2 separate regions of the Homo sapiens genome follow, and region 2 is linked to region 1. The links are contacts of gene promoters, found by promoter capture Hi-C in human tissues and cell types (Jung and others, 2019). All regions are on one chromosome and are shown on one strand. Each heading gives the region's core, a stretch centred on a gene start or on the middle of the fragment in contact. The rest is flanking DNA. Distances are from core to core; before and after follow the strand shown.

Region 1 (2,632 bases), core at 59-2,558:
AGCTTGAGCCAAGAGGATTGCTTGAGCCCAGGAGTTCAAGACCAGCCTGGGCAACACAGTGAGACCCTCCCTCTCCACAAAGCATAAAAAAATTAGCTGGGCGTGGTAGTGCATGCCTGTGGTCTTAGCTATTGGGGAGGCTGAGGCTGGAGGATTTCTTGAGCCTGGGAGGTTGAGGCTGCAGTGAGTTACAATCACCACTGTACTCCAGCCTGGGTGACAGAGTGAGACCCTGATTCAAAAACAAACCAAAAAAGTGATTTTTTTTTTTGGAGGGGAGATGGGGAGAAAGAACAGAGCTGTCTTTTGTGTTTATGATAATTTTGATCTTGTTTCTTAATCTGCAAAACAAAGAAGAGCATACTGGTGAAAAATAAAAGGAATGTAGCCTAGAATTCTGTTCAAATCCAGCTTCTGGCACTAGCAACTGTGTTATCTTAGTGAAGTTACTTAACTCGTCCCTCAGCCTTACTTTCCTTGTGTTATGTATAACACAGATGATAGTGATACCTATCTTGTACGGTGTGTGTGTGTGTGTGAGAGAGAGAGAATTGAATGGAATGAGATAATACATGTGAAACCCCCGTCCATGAGAGCTTGGCATATAGTAGGTGCTCAACAAATGGCAGGGACTTCTCTTGTTCTCAGCAATAACACTTAACAGAGCATTGGTAGGTCTATCCCTTTTTGGTGCTGAAAAATATTTTGCTAAAACAAGACGTATATTTGAGATTGGCTTTATGTGAAAGACGACGACATTCCAGGACACACAATTTTTATGAGGGCATTTTTAACCGGACACAAGGATCAAGCCTTTCTCGTCGTCTGGATTGCAGAGTTTTGCCGCGGGTTCGTTGTTTTTTACTATGGCTAATTTTAACGCTGAACATGAAGGGGTTAAGAAATGCCTTTACTCATGTTACATTAAGTAGCAGAAATTATAAGATAGAGGAATTGGGGAGGGAAAAAAAAAAGCCTTGGCAGCAACTCATGGTTTCCTAAGTAAGACGGCTTGTAGTTACAGTGATGAGTTGAATATACGTTCTGGCAGTTTAATCTGATCAGACTAACTTGGGGGTGGGTGCAACCCGTCGCTTCCACCCTTCGCCTCCTTTAACCAAAGCCGCCCAGAGTGCAATTGTCCAGAGTTGAAACCATGCTGTGAGTTGCAGCTTCTAATTGGAGAGGCAGGAAGCCCTTCCCTGGACAGACCCCGCCCCTCCCCGTGTGAATCGCCAGCCTGCGGGGAGGAGCTGGCCAATGCTAATGAGCGAGTTGCCAGGCGAGACAGGAACTTCTTTCCCCTTCTCTGTGTCAGGATCGCAGAAAGTATGTCCCTTCTCTCACCATGAGCTGGCTCTCCAGTTCCCAGGGAGTGGTACTAACAGCCTACCACCCCAGCGGCAAGGACCAGACCGTCGGGAACAGCCATGCAAAGGCAGGGGAGGAAGCCACCTCGAGGTAAGCCTTCGGAAGCTGAAAACAAAACAAAACCCTCTTACCTGCTCCAGGAAGAAAGTGACAGGGAAGTTGGCGTGGGGAGAAGGGAATTCCATCTGCACGTCGAGCCTGAGCTCGTGCAGCAGCAGTAGCAACGTTTGGCGTGATTTTTATGTACTTTTCATCTCACCTAGTCCAAGTCTGAAATAACCCATATGATTACTGGTGAAGACAGAGAAGAAGGAACTGGGGAGAGGGCTATATGGGCTGTCAGACTAGCTATTTAGCAGGTGCATTTGCACATGCTGAAAGATCAAATAGGTCTATCTGAAACACTTCCTTTCCTATGAAATGGAATTCTTGAATGGGCTCAAGGCACTGCCACTGGAACTGTTCGCTGGGAAAGTCTGCCAAAAAGCAGGGAGGCTGTTCACTGTACTGTACAAGCTGTTGTTGTTAGAGTGTTTTTTTTCCCCCCTCTCTTTGCTGAAAGCAAACCTCTTAGGCAAAAAGCCCAAGACACTGGCCTGTGGCAATATGTTTCACATTCTTTTGTGTATGTGGATTTTTTTTCCCCCAGGCTTTCAAAAAGGAGTTTTTGTCAGGAGATAGCACTCTGCTGCTGGAGTGAAATGTGGTTAATGTTAAATCACTTTATAGGCAGAGAGGGCAAATGTTCTATAGACCACTGAGGCGCAAAGGGTACCTTTCTCCCTATCTGTGTACTTTGTTCCATTTTCCAAGGGCTTTTTTTTTTCTTTCTCTCCTTAATGACCTTCTCACTAGCTGAACATTTTTACCTCCATCAAGATATAAATAGTAAATATTGGCCTAGAAGATTGCAAGAAGCAAATACTAACCTAATAGCCTAGAACACTAAATTAGTTATCGGTAAGCACATTTCCTCCTCAATGCTTAATGTGATAATAAAACCTTCTTTGTTCTTATGTGACTTATGCCTGTGCCTTAAGCTGAAATAATGCTGCCTTTCATTTGTTTTAAAATCTCCAAATATGAGGGAGGGAGAAAAATCAAAGGAATGGCTGTAATACTCAGTGTTAGACTCCCAGCTGACGGGAACTGTTTCTCACATAGCATCCACAGTATGTATTTCATTGAATGAATTCATTTCCAAAGATAAAAAAGATTTGGTGCTTGTGCCTTAGCTGTGTTACCATTTCATTTTCCATCA
Region 2 (2,632 bases), core at 99-2,598, 280 kb before region 1:
ACTGTCTAAATGTTTTCACCGTATACATGTGTTATTACTCTTTTTTTAAATGTTTTAGAGAAAGGAGATTAGGGCATACACTTTTTTGGTTGTTTTATTCTTTGTACCTCAGTGTATTTTTTTTAAGCATTGCAAAAAATTCCCCATATTAAATGCTTTCCAAAATCATATTTTAGTAGTCCGGTAACATTCTACCATGTAACACATATCATGATTTATTAATCCCTTTTGTTAAGTATTTAAATGTACAATGTTTTGGCAGTTATAATACTAAAATGAGTATTTGATATCTTGAGATAAGTTCTGGAAGTGGAATTGCCGAGGCAGTAGTAAAATTTTGCCATTGATAACCCTTCTAAGAACAGCAGGTATTAGAGTACTCTCCTGGGTACCTTGAAGGGTTTGGTATCAACTCTGGAATACGAAATTTGAAAGAGCTAAAATGCTCTGCGCAACACAGAATTTTGAACCCCCAGAGGCAATTGGGGGAAAATAAGGCAGGGAAATAAGACATAAAAATGTGTGCTTCAAGGATGCAGGATGCGGCCCCCTCCCTGTGAGTGGATTTCTATTGGAGACTTGTGAAGAAGATGAACTGTTACACAGAGAAACAAAAACAGCATACAGCCTGAGGCCAATTACACCATCGAGCATAAACCTGGGAGTTAACAGGAACCATGGGGAGGACTTGAGAGTGTCACCAATCAGGGAGCTGGGCATGGAGTTGAATATAACTGACTTGCTTTCTCAGGCCAGACTTTCCACTTCTCTTTACCATACACACCCCTCCTCTGAGGACCTCTGTTTTACAGGTTGGTAAAATCTTGTGATCTATATTACCAAATTGCCTTTTGTAGGGCAGGGGATGTACACATTTATGCTTTCACCAGCCATGGAGAAAGAGGCCTGATACACCCCACCATCACCAATACTGGGTATTACAGTTTTTAAACCTTCAGCAATTTAATGGAAATTTTTTTTTCTCATTGTTTACTTATACATGATTTTACATTTTAGAAAGGTTGACAATTTTTTCATCTTCATCTCATTTCTTGGAGAAAATAGAAGCCATCAAACAGGACCCTATTTATCAAAACACACTGATATAATAGATACCACCTCTATGACACTTGGTATGTGTTGGACATGGTTTAAGTGCTCTTATAAATATTAACTCATTTAAAAATTCACATGACAAATCTATAACATAGGTGATACTTTCCCTGCATTTTATAGGTGAAGAACTTGAAGTCTAGAAAGAGCATAACTTGACCACACTTACAATAAATGGAAGAAGTTGGATTCCAGCCTGGTTCCAGCTCCTAAACTCTCTGACATGCTACCTCTTCTTTCTTTCTCCATCCTTAGCAACTTAGCTTCATCATGTCCCCTCCACTGCTTTTAGGCCCTTTCAAATGTCAAAGGCCAATCCTTCCGTTCTGCTTTGAGAGCCAGTGCTCCTGCCTTCTAAGAGTCCTCTCCATCCATTCTCTTCCTCTCTCTTGCTCATCTTCAACATCCCTTCAGTCCTAATATCACTCACCTTAAACAAAAAATAAAAATGAAACAATCACAGTAAAAAGGAAACAACAACAAGAACAAACCTGTCAAACCTATATTTCCTTCCCTCTACCACAGATTTCCTCTGTATGATTATCTGCACAGTCTCTAGGCTTTCACCCTCCATTCCTACTCAATCCACTCCAACCTTGTCTCTGCTTCAACCAGCACACTAAACTGCATTTGCCAAGTGCATCAATGACGTTAGTTTTTTTCAAATCCAAGGGATTTTAAAAATTTAATTAGATACACTGGACCATTCCCTTTTTTTGATATACTTGATAGACTACACACTTAGGATTTTTATTTTATGCTCTGTGTAGCAATCTCAGTGTTGTTAGCTCCTCTTCCTATGCCTAACCTCTAAATCTTAATTTTCATGAAAACTTAGACCTTTTGTCTCTTTCCTTCTCACTGTACTCACTCTCTCAAGTTGACCATATTCAGTCTCATGGTTTTAAAAACTATTGTCTAACAGGTGATGCCTCCCTAATTTATTTTACGTGCCAGTTCCACTGGGATGTGTCTCAGGCATCTCAAACTTAACCTACCAAAACTGAATTCTTTATTTTCCTACCAAATCAGAAATATTCTTTCCTACCCCCTACACCTAATAAATTCCATGATGTCAGGGGTGAAGTTTGTGTTGATGTCTAGAACCTAGCATAGTTACTTATATAATACATAGGTGATGCCAATCAATGAGTTTAATGAGTGAATGAATGAATTGAAATTTTTTGTTTGAGATAATTTGGAACTCTCTTTATAGATCTACATTATAGATCTATAAAGAATTATCTTTATAGATCTGCATTATTAACCAATTATAGACTTACAGATCTGTAATTGGTTAACAATGCACATTCAAAATTAGTGAAAGAAAGAATATATATAGTGAATGACTGAAAATTAGGAAGGGACTTTAGACATTTTTTAGTATATAAGGTTTTAGAATTGAAAGGAATCGTAGTTCAGATGTCTTGTTTTATAGATACAAAAATTATTGTTTGTTAACTTGCTTGTCCAATATGACATTAGTCTTGTTAGAGCTGGCATAGAACCTAGAGTCTTG

What was found. The method cuts DNA at HindIII sites, captures the fragments that hold promoters and counts their contacts. A contact is called where the count stands out against the background at its distance.
Region 2: a contact is called between a fragment that was not itself captured here and the fragment with the promoter of ARHGAP18 in region 1, in 2 of the 25 tissues and cell types used here (IMR-90 fibroblasts and aorta).

Annotation. Positions count from the first base shown.
Region 1 is chr6:129,708,853-129,711,484 of GRCh38, reverse strand. ARHGAP18 (Rho GTPase activating protein 18) reads left to right here and starts at 1,308. Exons shown (of 15, transcript NM_033515.3): 1 at 1,308-1,461. The coding sequence starts at 1,349. RefSeq lists a silencer at 955-1,034. The HindIII fragment of the contact is 16,000 bases long and covers 1-2,632 here.
Region 2 is chr6:129,988,610-129,991,241 of GRCh38, reverse strand. No RefSeq gene overlaps it. Among named protein-coding and RNA genes, the nearest start is that of L3MBTL3, 29 kb to the left of the region's middle. The HindIII fragment of the contact is 7,110 bases long and covers 1-2,632 here.